Linked DNA regions of Homo sapiens: region 2 is linked to region 1. Evidence: promoter capture Hi-C in human tissues and cell types (Jung and others, 2019). All regions are on one chromosome and are shown on one strand. The core of a region is centred on a gene start or on the middle of the fragment in contact, and the rest is flanking DNA. Distances in the headings are between cores, read along the strand shown.

Region 1 (7,110 bases), core at 3,330-5,829:
GAAGGGCGGAGGCCAGGCTGAGCAGGAGGATGTGGCACCTGGTAAGGAGAAGGGCGGAGGCCAGGCTGGGCGGAGGATGTGGCACCTGGTAAGGAGAAGGAGGCCGGGCCGGGCAGGAGGATGTGGCATCTGCGTAAGGAGAAGGGCGGAGGCCGGGCTGAGCAGGAGGATGTGGCACCTGTGTAAGGAAAAGGAGGCCGGGCTGGGCAGGAGGATGTGGCACCTGTGTAAGGAGAAGGAGGCCGGGCTGGGCAGGAGGATGTGGCACCTGCGTAAGGAGAAGGAGGCCGGGCTGGGCAGGAGGATGTGGCACCTGCGTAAGGAGAAGGAGGCCGGGCTGGGCAGGAGGATGTGGCACCTGCGTAAGGAGAAGGAGGCCGGGCTGGGCAGGAGGATGTGGCACCTGCGTAAGGAGAAGGAGGCCGGGCTGGGCAGGAGGATGTGGCACCTGCGTAAGGAGAAGGAGGCCGGGCTGGGCAGGAGGATGTGGCACCTGCGTAGGGAGAAGGAGGCCGGGCTGGGCAGGAGGATGTGGCACCTGCGTAAGGAGAAGGAGGCCGGGCTGGGCAGGAGGATGTGGCACCTGCGTAAGGAGAAGGAGGCCGGGCTGGGCAGGAGGATGTGGCACCTGCGTAAGGAGAAGGAGGCCGGGCTGGGCAGGAGGATGTGGCACCTGCGTAAGGAGAAGGAGGCCGGGCTGGGCAGGAGGATGTGGCACCTGTGTAAGAAGAAGGAGGCCGGGCTGGGCAGGAGGATGTGGCACAGCTGACACAGCCACAAAGCTCCTGCCCATGGGGCGCTCTGAGGGGCAGACTGCCTGTTGGCGGAGTCTTGTGGGGTGGAAATGGTGAGGTCACTGTGATGCCACTTTGCTTAGTCATCGGCCACAGGGTCACCTGGAGAAGAGCATGAGCTCAGCATAAAAGCAAGGCCCACCCTGCAGGGGCCAGCAGCTGGGAGCTGTCCACTAACCACTATCCTTGCAGCTGGACAGCGAGGCCCCTCCAAAAGGCCGTCTCCACCTGCCACCGGGAAAGGACCCGGAGCGAAGGATGTCGTGGGCGGTCAGCCCAGGTGATTGCCCTTCTTTTGCTTTGGAGCCAGGCAGAACAGAGCTCAAATTCCAGCTTTGGGACAGTGTGTGGCCCAGAAGGCTGTAACTGCGGAGTTAACACTCTCCAGTTTCCCTAGATGGCCCGACCTGGCCGGTGACTCGGGGATGATGAAGCTCCTGGAGCCTCAGCGTGCTCACTTGAGAGGTAGGGCAGCGCTTTGTACTTCACAGGGCCATGGGGACAGGCTCAGGGCCTGGCACTCTAGTGACCGGCTTCATGCTGGGTCACTGACTAGGGAATCCACACACCTTTTTAGTCCAGACTGAGTAGGTAAATCAGACTTAATAAACATCCAGCTTCCTGCTCGAGATCAGCCTAGTTGTCCTAAGTCTGACAAGATTGAACTTTATTCACAGCACGAGGCATAAATGATATAAAGGTAAGCAATTTTAGGGGACCCAAAAAACTAGGGACTCCTACTTGGGTAGCTTAGAAGGGGAATCTCTCTTGGAGATCCTGGCTTTGCTGCCTCAAACCCAGCTGTCTCTTCAAGCCAAGTCTGGGAGAATCTCATGATCTTATCCTTGCTCCAATTTACTTACACCCCACATCCACACTAAGCTCTTCCTGCCTCCCGTGGAATATTAACTTACACCTGACTTCAGACTCCTGCCCCTATGCAGACCCAGCAGTATGCGGGCCTAGGAGGTTTTTCGGCCACAAGGAACTAGAGAAGCCACTCATTTTGTCCCCTCTCATTCACCCCATTCTGTCCCCATCGGATGCCTTGGGAGGAGAGAAGGAAGGACAAATGGGTGTCCCGTGACCCAACCCAGATGAAGACAGAGCCATTTATCACAGAGACCCAGACACATCCTAACTCTGGAAAATGGGCATATTGAGGGGAGCTGGAAAGCAGAAGGGAAACGGGCGTGGGCAGGGAAGAGGTGAACAGGAGTGCGCACGCCCAGTTCTCCAGGATCTCACGCTCCTAATCAGGATCCTATAAGACTCAAAGGGGACGCAGGAAAGACCTGGGCCTGGAAATTCACTTCCGGACTCCTCCTGTATCCTGGCTGGCCCTCGTTTGTGTCTCCCTCCAGGGATGATGCCCGGATGGAAGGAGGAGCCACGTTCCTCCACAGGTGTCCTCCACAACAGGTGTCCTCACAACAGGTGTCGTAACAACAGGTGTCCTCACAACAGGTGTCCTAATACTCCCGCAGCCCCTCAGCATCTACAGGCTCACTCCCACCCTACAACCTTTCAGATAGGTGTTATCCCCATTTTACAGGTGAACGAGGAAAACAGCTCGAAGAGGCTGTGACTTTGTGGTGACGCGGTGGCAGAGCTGGGATCAAGCCCAGGTTTGTAACGCCCTCCTGGAGTCTCGGCCGTCACAGCAGCTTCCGGAGAGCGCTGTGTGCCTCTGGCCTTCCTGGCATGGGAAAGAGGTCAGCTACCTGTGTTCGGTCAACAAGATGTCCAGCGCTTAGTTTGGTCTCACCTGGATGCTCCTTTCTCCTCTAGAGATGGAAAACTGTTGTCCTGAAAGCGTCACCAAACAAAACCTGTGGAAAGGTAATGGGGGGACCCACGAGCAAGAGCTGACAGAAAAATGACCACGGGCCGGGTGCAGTGGCTCACGCCTGTAATCCCAGCACTTTGGGAGGCCAAGGCGGGCGGATCATCTGAGTTCAGGGGTTCGAGACCAACCTGGCCAACATGGTGAAACCTCGTCCCTACTAAAAATACAAAAAAAATTAGCCGGGCGTGGTGGCAGGTGCCTGTAGTCCCAGCTACTAGGGAGGCTGAGGCAGGGGAATGGCGTGAACCCGGGAGGCGGAGCTTGCAGTGAGCTGAGATGGTGCCACTGCACTCCAGCCTGGGCGACAGAGCAAGACTCCATCTCAAAAAAAAAAAAAAGTGCAAAATGATCACGAAGGCCAAGCTGGGCCTTGGTGTCTGCGAATTCCCTGCAGTAGGTCCCTCCTGCTGCCCCGTCCAGGCGCCCACAGGATGCTCCACATGACTCTTTACCTTTATGATTTTCTTACCTCCAGGAAAGAACAGGGTCAGCTCGTCCACCCAGAGCTGGAGGGACTGTTGGGGGACCACGCCACTTCCCCACGGTATCCGCATTATTATGGCGTGGCCCAGGCTTTGGCCTGGGGCCATGAACAGACTTTCAGCTTCTAGAAGCAAGTGGTCACAGGGCCTCCGTGACCCTCGGAGACAGCGCCACAGCGTCGGTTGCCTACTCCTTGCTGGACAAGGCTGGCTCTGCTTGGGAATGCAGAAACCCTGAGTCCTTGTCCTGGGCCCCACAGTGTCTGAGCATCGAAGGTCCCTGCTCTGGGACGAGTCACCCCACAGACACCCCACATTCGGGAATCAAGTCTTGAGGAATCAGAAGCAGAGATTCACACTGTGGCAAAGAGGGGAGCGGAGGTATCCCCGTTTTCCTTTGCAGAGAGCTACACCAACTGCCCTCTTCGTCTTTACAACCCTACTTGGGGTCCCTTTCCCTCCTCGCTTGTGCCTGTGAGTTCCAAGAGGTGGAACTGGGGTGAGCAGAGCCCCCAGGTCTCCAGGAGCAGCTCCACCTCCTCACAGGTTACAGTCGCTTCCTCCTACCGAGGTTCTGCCTTCAACCCACTGCCCATGCCAGCTCCCTCAGGCCAGTCTCCCAGACTGTCCCTGGCTCCCTGCACCCTGGCTCCAGCTCCCTGCCCTGGAAAGAAGAAGTCCACCATCTGGTGAGGGTCTGCCACGCATCTGGGGTCTGCCATGCGTCTGCACTGAGGTTCTGCCACGAGTCTGCACTGAGGTTCTGCCATGCGTCTGGAGTCTGCCACGCGTCTGGGGTCTGCCACGCGTCTGGAGTCTGCCATGGGTCTGGGGTCTGCCATGTGTCTGGGATCTGCCGTGCGTCTGGGGTCTGCCACGCATCTGCACTGAGGTTCTGCCACGCGTCTGGGGTCTGCCACGCGTCTGGGGTCTGCCACGCGTCTGGGGTCTGCCACGCGCCTGCACTGAGCAGATATTCCAAGCACACCACCCCTTTCCAAAAGACGGCATACAGTGCATTTCTGTTCCTGCCCCTCACCCACATGGTTCCCCGCTTCCCAATTCCTTGGGGTCTGCTTAAGTCTCACTCTCTTTCCCCCATTCATACAGCCCCAAGGTCGCTCCCTCTGGGGCCCTTTCTTCCCCATTCTTCCCAGCAGCCCAAAGCTCTGGTGGGACAGGGGCAGCCCCTGGGGAGGGAGGAGAGGACCCAGGAACCCGGCTAGGAGGGTGGCCCACCCATTTCCAGTGTGACCTGTTCCCATTCCCCCATGTCTCCTCCCATCCCTCCCGCCACTCAGCTCAGGCTGATGAGAAGCAGAGCAACGGGTGTATCGGTGTTTTCTTTCCTGGTGGGGTAGTGGGGTGGGGCTGAGGAGAGAAAAGGGTGATTAGCGTGGGGCCCCGCCCTCTTTTGTCCTCTTCCCAGGTTCCCTGGCCCCTTCGGAGAAACGCACTTGGTTCGGGCCAGCCGCCTGAGGGGACGGGCTCACGTCTGCTCCTCACACTGCAGCTGCTGGGCCGTGGAGCTTCCCCAGGGAGCCAGGGGGACTTTTGCCGCAGCCATGAAGGGGGCACGCTGGAGGAGGGTCCCCTGGGTGTCCCTGAGCTGCCTGTGTCTCTGCCTCCTTCCGCATGTGGTCCCAGGTAAGTGATGGAGACAGCAGATGAGGCTGGCTGCGGGGAGCACTTGGGGGAGGTGGGAGCTGTCAGAGAAAGAGGTCCGGGGAGACAGAGAGAGAGAGAGAGAGAATAGGGGAAAGGGAGACAGCGAAGAGGAAGAGAAGGGAGAGAAAAAGAGGGAGAGGGAAAGGAGAAAGAGATGAATGGGACAACATGGGGGGAAGGTGGAGAGAGACCCAGAGAGGGAAAGAAGAGGAAGAGAAGAGGGAGAGAGAAAGAAGAGTGGAGGCCGTGCGCGGTGGCTCATGCCTGTAATCCCAGCACTTTCGGAGGCCAAGGCAGGAGATCACCTGAGGTCAGGAGTTCGAGACCAGCCTGGCCGACATGGTGAAACCCCGTCTCTACTAAATATACAAAAATTAGCCGGTCGTGGTGGGCCCCACCTGTAATTCCAGCTACTCAGGAGTCTGAGGCAGGAGAATCACTTGAACCTGGGAGGTGGAGGTTGCAGTGAGCCAAGATCGCGCCACTGCACTCCAGCCTGGGAGAGAGAGCGAGACTCTGTCTCAAAATAAATAAATAAATAAATAAATAAATAAATAAATAAATAAATATAAAATAAAATAAAAAATAAGAAGAGGAGAAAAGTGGGGAAGAGGAGGCATGAACTGGCAGATACGGGACAAGATCTGAGGGGAAAGACAGAGGGAGAATGCTCGAAAGAGAGAGAAAAGAGAACAGAGGGCCAGAGAGCAGCCCGGCGATGTCTGGAAGGATCCATGGTGAGAGCCCAGGCTTACTCGCAGAGAGAAAGACAGGCAGAGCCAGAGCAAGAGGAACAGAGTCAAGGAGAAAGATGTACACCCTTGTGTACAGAGCTGGGGGTAGAGGGGATGCCAGGAAAGCTGGGTGATGGAGACGGAAGAAAACTCATGTAAAGCTGCAGGGTGAGAGGACGAGACAGGTGAGACGCAGACAAACTGAGGACCCTGGGAATGGAGAGAGGAGAAGATCGGGAGACAGCAGCAAGCAAGGGAAGCGACAAGGAGGAGAGGGGCAGGCCGGCCGGGAGGGTGGTGCGGAGGAGGCGGCCAGGGCGCAGAGGGCCGGGAGGTGCTGGCCGTGGGCTTCTTACCTCTGAGCTCGGGTTTAAAAGCCTCCATTTGGGTCACGGCCTTGCCTGGGGCTCGTAGCCCCGGCATTGGCCTTGGGCTCCTCCGTGTACAGAGCTGGGAGGGGAGGGATGCCAGGCCTGTGGGAGATGTTCCCTCGGGGGCCCCCGTCCTCTTCCCCACACTTTCCAGGCTGTCCCTCTGGCTTCAGGACCAAGTTTTATTCTGTGTTTCTGGGTGTCTGAGTCTTTGGGGGAGAGTCTGGGGTCCAGAGTTCAAGCTGGGGTTAGAGTCTCAGCTCCTGCCCTGCCTCTCAGCAGGCTAAGAACAGTCGCCGAGGGAAAATATTTCTTGGGCGCATATTTGAGGAGCTTCCTGGGAGTGAGTCAGAAGGCGAGTGCCGTTTAAAGGCTGCAAGAGAAGCCATGCTGGTGAAGCGGACCCTTCCACCTCGGGATGTTTCAGGACTAGGCTGAGGGCAAAGGAAACTGCCACCACCTCCCTACACCTCCCCACCCTCCAGCACCCCCACCCCACCCTGGCCACACAACCCCGCTCCAGTGCTCATCCCACCGTGAGGACGTGGAGGCCGGAAGGAGCCGCCACACGGCCCTGCCCTGCAGATGTGGTTGAAGGAGTCTCCACGGGAATCATGACTCCCAGAGCGAGGCTGGGGCTTGGGGCGCCGGGGAGGCAGCTTGGATTTAGGAGCCCCAGGGCCAAGTCTTTGCCGTGAACTGTTCTGGCCCCTGTGACCAGGCCCTGCCCCGTGTCTCCCCAGGGCCCCGGTCCCCTGTGTAAAAAGCAGTGGTGAACGGTTGGACCTCCTGACGCCCAAGTTCTTGAGTTTCCAAATCTGTGATTTAAAGCTGAGCCCAAATGTGCTGGGTACCAGCTGGACACTCAGCTCCATGTGGAGCCAGGAAGTGGGGTCTGTGGAGAGGAGCGCAGAGGGGCAAGACCTGGGGTGGGCGTGGAAAAGCACGGGGGCGTGACCCGGAGAAGGAGTGAAGGACTGTTGGTGTGCAAGGGCGTCTCCATGACGACCCGAAGAAGCTAGGCATGTCGTGGAGCGCTGAGTCCTTTGCGTCGCTAAGGGGACCAAGTGGAGCTGGGCCAGGAGAGGAGATGGTCGTGGCTGGGAGATGGCACCCACACATCTGACCGGGCATGACCAGGGCCTTGGCAGGAAAAGCAGTCACCAAGGGCGGGTGGGCAGCCCCCACCCCCACAGGGCAGCTGCTGGAGGA
Region 2 (6,917 bases), core at 3,371-5,870, 380 kb after region 1:
AAAATAGAAAATTTCCTAACTTGATCCTAATTTGATAACGGCCATCTTTAAAACACCCTCAGCTAACATCATATTTAGTGGTGAAGGACTAAAAGCTTTCCCCTAACATAAGGAGCAAGAAGCCTGTCACCACTTCTGTTCAACACTGTAGCAGAGGATAGAGCCAGAGCAGTTAGGCTGGAAAGAGAAATTAAAGGCATCCATATAGGAAAAGAAATAGTAAAACTATATTTTTAGATAATAAGTCTTGTACAATCAGCCTTTGTATCTATGGGTTCCACTTTTGTGAGTCAATCAATCATGGATTGAGAATATTTTGGAAAAAAACAATAAAAAATAACGATAACAAAGTACAAATAAATAGTATAACAACTATTTACACATAACATTTACATTGCATTAGGTATTAGAAATAATCTAGAGATGATTTAAAGTATATAAGATGATGTATGAAGGTTATTTGCAAATACAGTGCCATTTTATATACAGACTTGAGCATCCGTGGATTTTGGTATTAGTGGGTAGTGCAGGGGGTGGGCAGGGGGAGTCCTGGAACCAATGTCCTATGGATACCAAGGGATGAAGGTATATAGAAAATGCTAAGGAATCCACAAAAATCAGTTATAACTAGTAAGTTCAGCTAGGATGTAGTCTATAAGATCAATGTACAAAAATTATTTGTATTTCTGTATACTAACAAAGAAAACCAATCTGTCTATAGTGGCGTCAAAAAGAGGAAAGTACTTAGAAGACAGTACACTGAAAACACCATTGAAAGACATTAAAGACCTGAATAAATGGAAATACATCCCATGTTCATGGATCAGAAGGCTGAATATTGTTAAGATGGCAATATTCCCCAAATTGATCTACAAACTAAACGCAATCTCTATGAAAATTCCAACCGGTTTCTTTGAAGAAATTGTCAAGCTGATCCTAAAATTCATGTGGAAATATAAGTAACCCAGAACAGCCAAAACAATCTTGAAAAAGAACGAAGTTGGAGGATTCAATTTCCAATTTCAAAAGTTACTACAAAGTGATTGTAATGAAGACGGTGTAGTACTGGCATAAGGATAGACATATAGATCAGTGAAATAGAATTGAAGAGTCCAGAAACAAAGCCTTGCATTTATGGTGAGCCAGTTTTAACAGAGGTACCCAGACAATTCAATGCGTGAAAGAATAGTCTTTTGAACAAATGGTGCAAAGACAACTGAATATCCACACGTGAAAGTATGAAGTTGGAGCCCTATCTTATGTCATAGGCAAAAATTAACTCAAAATAGATCACAGGCCTGCATGGAAGACCTAAAACTATAAAGCTCTTAGGAGAAAACAGAATTAAATCTTTGTGACCTTGAATTAGGCAATGGTTTCTTAGGTATGAAATTTAAAGTACAAGGAACCCAAGAAAAGATTGATAAATTGAATTTCATTAAAATTAAAAACTTTCATGCTTCAAAGGACACAGAACATTAAAAGTCATGCACAAAATGAGAGAAAATATTTGCAAATTATACCTGTTAAGGGATTTGTATCTAGAGAATGTAAAGCTCTGCAACTCGAAGGACAAATAATCCAATTAAAGAATGGGCAAAGGATTTGAGTAAGTATTTCTTCAAAGAACATACCCAAATGGTCAATAAGCACATGAAAATATGCTCAACATCATTAACTAGCAATGCATATAAATACAAATAAAATCATGGTGAGATACGACTTCATACCCACTAGGATGGCTATACTGGAAAAGACAGATAATAACCAGCATTGGGAAGAATGTGGAGCTGTTAGAACCCTCATGCACTGCCAGTGGGAATGTAAAATGGTGAGCCACATTGGAAGAGTTTGGGAGTTCCTAAGATAAGAAGTTAAACATAGAGGCTGGGTGCGGTGCCTCATGCCTGTAATCCCAGCACTTTGGGAGGCCGAGACGAGTGTATCATGAGGTCAGGAGATCGAGACCATCCTGCCAAACATAGTGAAACCCCATCTCTACTAAAAATACAAAAAAAAAAAAAAAATTAGTCGGGCATGGTCGCATGTACCTGTAGTCCCAGCTACTCGGGAGGCTGAGGCAGGAGAATGGCGTGAACCCAGGAGGTGGAGCTTGCAGTGAGCCGAGATCACGCCACTGCACTCCAGCCTGGGTGACAGAGCGAGACTCTGTCTTGGGGAAAAAAAAGAAAAGTTAAACATAGAGTTACCATATGAGTTCTAGCGAGCCATTCCACTTCTAGGTGTATACCCAAGAGAAATGAAGATATATACCCACAAAACTTTGTACAAGGATGTTCATAGGAGCATTATTCACTGCCAAAAAGTGAAACAACCTGTGTCCGTACATGGATAAATAAGATATGAAGTATCTATACAAATGGAATTAAGGTATTCAGCTGTCAAATGGAATGAAATACTGTTATATGCCATAATATGGATGAACCTTGGAAACATTTTACTAAATGAAATAAGCCAAACACAAAAGCCATATATTATATAATTTTATGTGAAATGTCCAGAATAGGCAAATTTGTAGAGCCAAAATAGATTAGTGATTTCTAGGGGTTGGAGGGTGAGGGAAATGCAATTAGTGGTTGCTAACGGATATGGGGTTTCTTTTGGGAGTGATGAAGATTTTCTGGAGTTAGTGGTAATGGTTGTAGAACTCTAAATATACTAAAACCCACTAAACTATATTTTTAAATGGTGAATTTATGTTGTGAATTATATTTCAATATAGCTGTTACTGAAAAAGGTTTGAAGCGTAGAACATTTATAATCAAACGCATAGGTGGAATAGAAAATACATGTTGAGCCTCCATATTTCTTTCGCCTTGACTTAACAGTTATCAATGCATGGTGATCTTTAAACCCCAGCCCCTTGTTTCCCCATATGATTTTTTTTTTTTCAGTTGAGACAGGGTCACACTCTGTCACCCAGGGTGGAGTGCAGTGGTGCAATCTCGGCTCACTGCAACCTCTGCCTCCCGGGTTCAAGTGATTCTCCTGCCTCAGCCTCCCGAGTAGCTGGGATTATAGGCGTGAACCACTATGCCTAGCTAAATTTTGTATTTTTAGTACAGATGAGGTTTCGCCATGTTGGCCAGGTATGGTCTCGAACTTCTGACCTCAAGTGATCTGCCTACCTCGGCCTCCCAAAGTGCTGGGATTACAGGTGTGAGCCACTGCTCCTGGCCTCCCCATATGATTTTTGAAGCAAATCTCAGAGAGTATAGAATTCCATCAGTATGTATGTGTATGTCTCTGAAAATATATACACTTTAAAAAAATTATGTAACTACACACCATTATCACATCAGAAAAAAGTAACAATAATTAATAGCATCAAACATCCATCAAATAAGCTTCATAGCTTATGTAGGATTTATTTTGTGTCCTTTATCACATTAGAAGATTGTGTCTCTTCTTTATCAAGTAAATTCCCTCCCTGATAATCTGTAGATAAGAAATCCCGGCAGATCATCTTGGCAGAAACAAATCATTAGAGAACATTAGGCAGTCATCCATGGACTGTTTTGGACCTGTCCTTTTCATCTTCCTTTCTAACCTGAATTTGTTGCTTTCCTGGCATTTTGCACTTAATTTTTTGATTATAGAAAATTTCAAGCATATACAAATTAAACAGAATAATATTAATGACCCCTCATTATCCAGTTTAAGCAAATACCAATGTTGTGTAATTCTTGTTTCATCTATGTTTCTGTTATACTTACTCTCCCTTGTGCCATAGGCAAAAAGAACTCTCCCAAAATGGATCATAGATCTAAATGGAAGACCTAAAACTATAAATCTCTTAGGAGAAAACATAAGATTAAATTTTTGTGACCTTGAATTAGGCAATGGTTTCTTAGATATGAAACCTAAAGTAGAAGCACCCAAAGAAAAGAAATTAAAAAGTATTAATTCGTGTTCATAGTTTTTTTCTTGATAAAAACTTGCATACATTGAAATGCACAATTGTACACTACCCGTCACCTACACCTCTGTCACGATACAGCCTATTTTCCATCTTCCCAGAATGCTTCCCCCACCACCTAAAGACAACCACTGTTTTGCTTTTTTTGAACTTTAGATTAGTTTTGCCTATCGTTGAACATTATAAATAGATTCTTATGGTTTGTATGTCAATTATTATTCTCAGCGTTTTGGTACTTTTGCTTAGCATTTTAACTATGAGATTGATCCATGTTTTTCTGTGTGTCACTAGTTCATTTTTTTTTTTTTTTTTTGAGATGGAGTCTTGCTCTTTTGCCCAGGCTGGAGTGCAGTGGTGCGATCTCAGCTCACTGCCTCCTGGGTTCAAGCTGTTCTCCTGCCTCAGCCTCCTGGATAACTGGGATTACAGGCACACACCACCACACCCGACTAATTTTTGTATATTTAGCGGAGATGGGGTTTTATCATGTTGGCCAGGCTGGTCTCGAACTCCTGACCTCAAGTGATTCACCCACCTCAGCCTCCCAAAGTGCTGGGATTACAAGTGTGAGCCACTGCACCTGGCCAGTGTCACTAGTTCATTCTTACTGCTGTGTAGTATTTCTTTGTGAATGTACCATAATGTATTCATTCTCCTGATGATGGATAGATTGCTTCCATTGTTTGATCATTGTGAATAAAGTTGTTACGAACATTCTTATACAAATTTTCTTACGGTAGGTTTTCATTTCTCTTAAGATAAATACCTAGGAGTTGAATTGCTGTGTCAAGGGGTAAACGTGTTTATAAGAAACTGCAAAGCATTATTCCAAAGCGATTGTACTGTTTATAAATCTGCCAACAATATTTGAGTGTTCCTGTTGCTCCACATTCTTGCTAGCATTTGGTAATATCACCTTTTGATATTACCCATTGTGTGAGTATATAATATATTCCTGCATGTGTGTGTTTAATTGCAGTTATGTGTTACTTAATGACGAGAATATCTTCTGAGAAATGCATCATGATTTTGTCATGTAAACATCATAGGGTGTATTTACACAACTTAGATGGTATAGCCTACTACACATCTAGGGTATATGATATAGCCTCTGGGTCCTAGGATACAAACCTGTACAGCTTGTTATTGTACTGAATACTGTAGGCAATTTTAACACAGTGGCATTTGTGTATCTAAACATATCTAAACATAGAAAAGGTACAGTAAAAATATGATATTATAATCCCATGGGACCGCTGTTGTATTTGTGGTCTGTTGATTGGAATATGACTGTGTGTGTATATATATGTATAGACCTATATATATGAGTGTGTGTGTGTGTGTATATATATATACACACACACCTATATATATGAGTGTATATATATCTATGTATGTATACCTATGTATGACTGTATATATACATCTATATAATATATATACCTATATATATGACTGCATATATACATACATATAATTATGACTATATATGTATACATGTATGTATATATATACAGTCACATTCCAGTCAACAACAGATTGTGTCATATATTCTATTAAGTTGTTATGACATAATACTGCTTAGTCCTGTTTTGGACATGTTGATACCCTGCTTTTCTGGATTATTGATAATTTGGTAACAATTTTATGTTACTTTTCTAGAGTTTAGACTAATTATCTTTTAGACGTGTGTGTGTATATATATATATATGCATCTGTGTGTGTGTATGTATACATACAGACACAAGCACATATAATTGAATGCACCTGTTTTTTCTTTTTTTTGAGATGGGGTCTCACTCTGTCACCCAAGTTGGAGTGCAGTGGTGTTATCTTGTCTCACTGCAACTTCCACCTCCCAGGCTCAAGTGATCCTTCCACCTCAGCCTCCTATCAGGGAACACAGGTGCACACCACTACATCTGGCTAACTTTTTGTATTTTTGGTAGAGATGAGGTTTTGCCATGTTGCCCAGGCTGGTCTCAAACTCCTGAGCTCAGGCTGTCCACCTGCCTCAGCCTCTCAAAGTGCTAGGATTACAGGAGTGAGCCACTGCGTCCGGCCTAGATATGTTTAGATACACAAATAACATTGTGTTAACAATTGCCTACAGTATTCAGTAAAGTAATATACTGTACAGGTTTGTATTCTAGGAACCATATAGGCTATACCTTGTACCTTAGGTGTGTAATAGGCTACACCGTCGAGGTGGCTTGTAGTCTGTGATGCTTGCCCAGTGAAGAAGTCATCTAACAGTGCACCTCCGAGAAGGTATCACCTTTGTTAAATGATGGATGACTAGCTTTTTATTGCCGTTATAGCAAATTACCCCAAACTTAGTGGCCTAAAACGACACAAAATGATTTTACAGTTCTGGAGATCACAGTTTTGATACAGATCTCACTGGGCTAAAATAAAAGGCCAGTTGGCAGGGCTGCATTCTTTTCTGGAAGGTCTAGGGAAGAATCCTTTATTTTAGTTTTTTATACCTTGCCTTCTCCAATTTCAAAGGGCTGCCCATATTCCTTGGCTCATGGCCCCTTTCCATCTCCAAAGCCAGCAGTGGTTGTGATACTCCCTCTTCTATCCTCCTCTTTTACTGATAAGGACCCTTGTGATAATGTTGGGCTGACATTCCAGAATAATCTCCCAATCTCAAGGTCAGATGATAGCAACCTTAATTTCCCTTTGCCGTGTAACCTAACGTATTTGCGGGTTCTGAGGATTCGGATGTTGACATCCTTGGTGGGGGCGGGTGGCGGGGGGCATTATTTTGTCTACCACAGTCCACCCCCTGGCTCCCCAAAATTCACCTCTATTCCACATGCAAAACATATTCACCCCATCCCAATATCCTCAAAAGTCTCAACACTGATTTGTAATCTTGCCAAAGATCTAATCTGTGCTCATTGGTTTACATATGACCTTATAATCATAGTGCAAATTTTGGTGGCTTTGCTATTTTTAATTTAATAGT

The links. Contacts are between HindIII fragments. The study calls those that stand out against the background at their distance.
Region 2: a contact is called between a fragment that was not itself captured here and the fragment with the promoter of MUC4 in region 1, in 1 of the 25 tissues and cell types used here (ovary).

The regions. Positions count from the first base shown.
Region 1 is chr3:195,809,398-195,816,507 of GRCh38, reverse strand. MUC4 (mucin 4, cell surface associated) reads left to right here and starts at 4,579. Exons shown (of 25, transcript NM_018406.7): 1 at 4,579-4,772. The coding sequence starts at 4,691. LOC124905352 (vegetative cell wall protein gp1-like) reads right to left here and starts at 803. Exons shown (of 3, transcript XM_047449429.1): 1 at 1-803. The coding sequence starts at 793. RefSeq lists enhancers at 1-78, 6,319-6,882, 6,883-7,110. The HindIII fragment of the contact is 26,053 bases long and covers 1-7,110 here.
Region 2 is chr3:195,426,715-195,433,631 of GRCh38, reverse strand. The region is part of intron 1 of ACAP2 (ArfGAP with coiled-coil, ankyrin repeat and PH domains 2); the gene reads left to right. Among named protein-coding and RNA genes, the nearest start is that of ACAP2, 13 kb to the left of the region's middle. The HindIII fragment of the contact is 5,776 bases long and covers 1,733-6,917 here.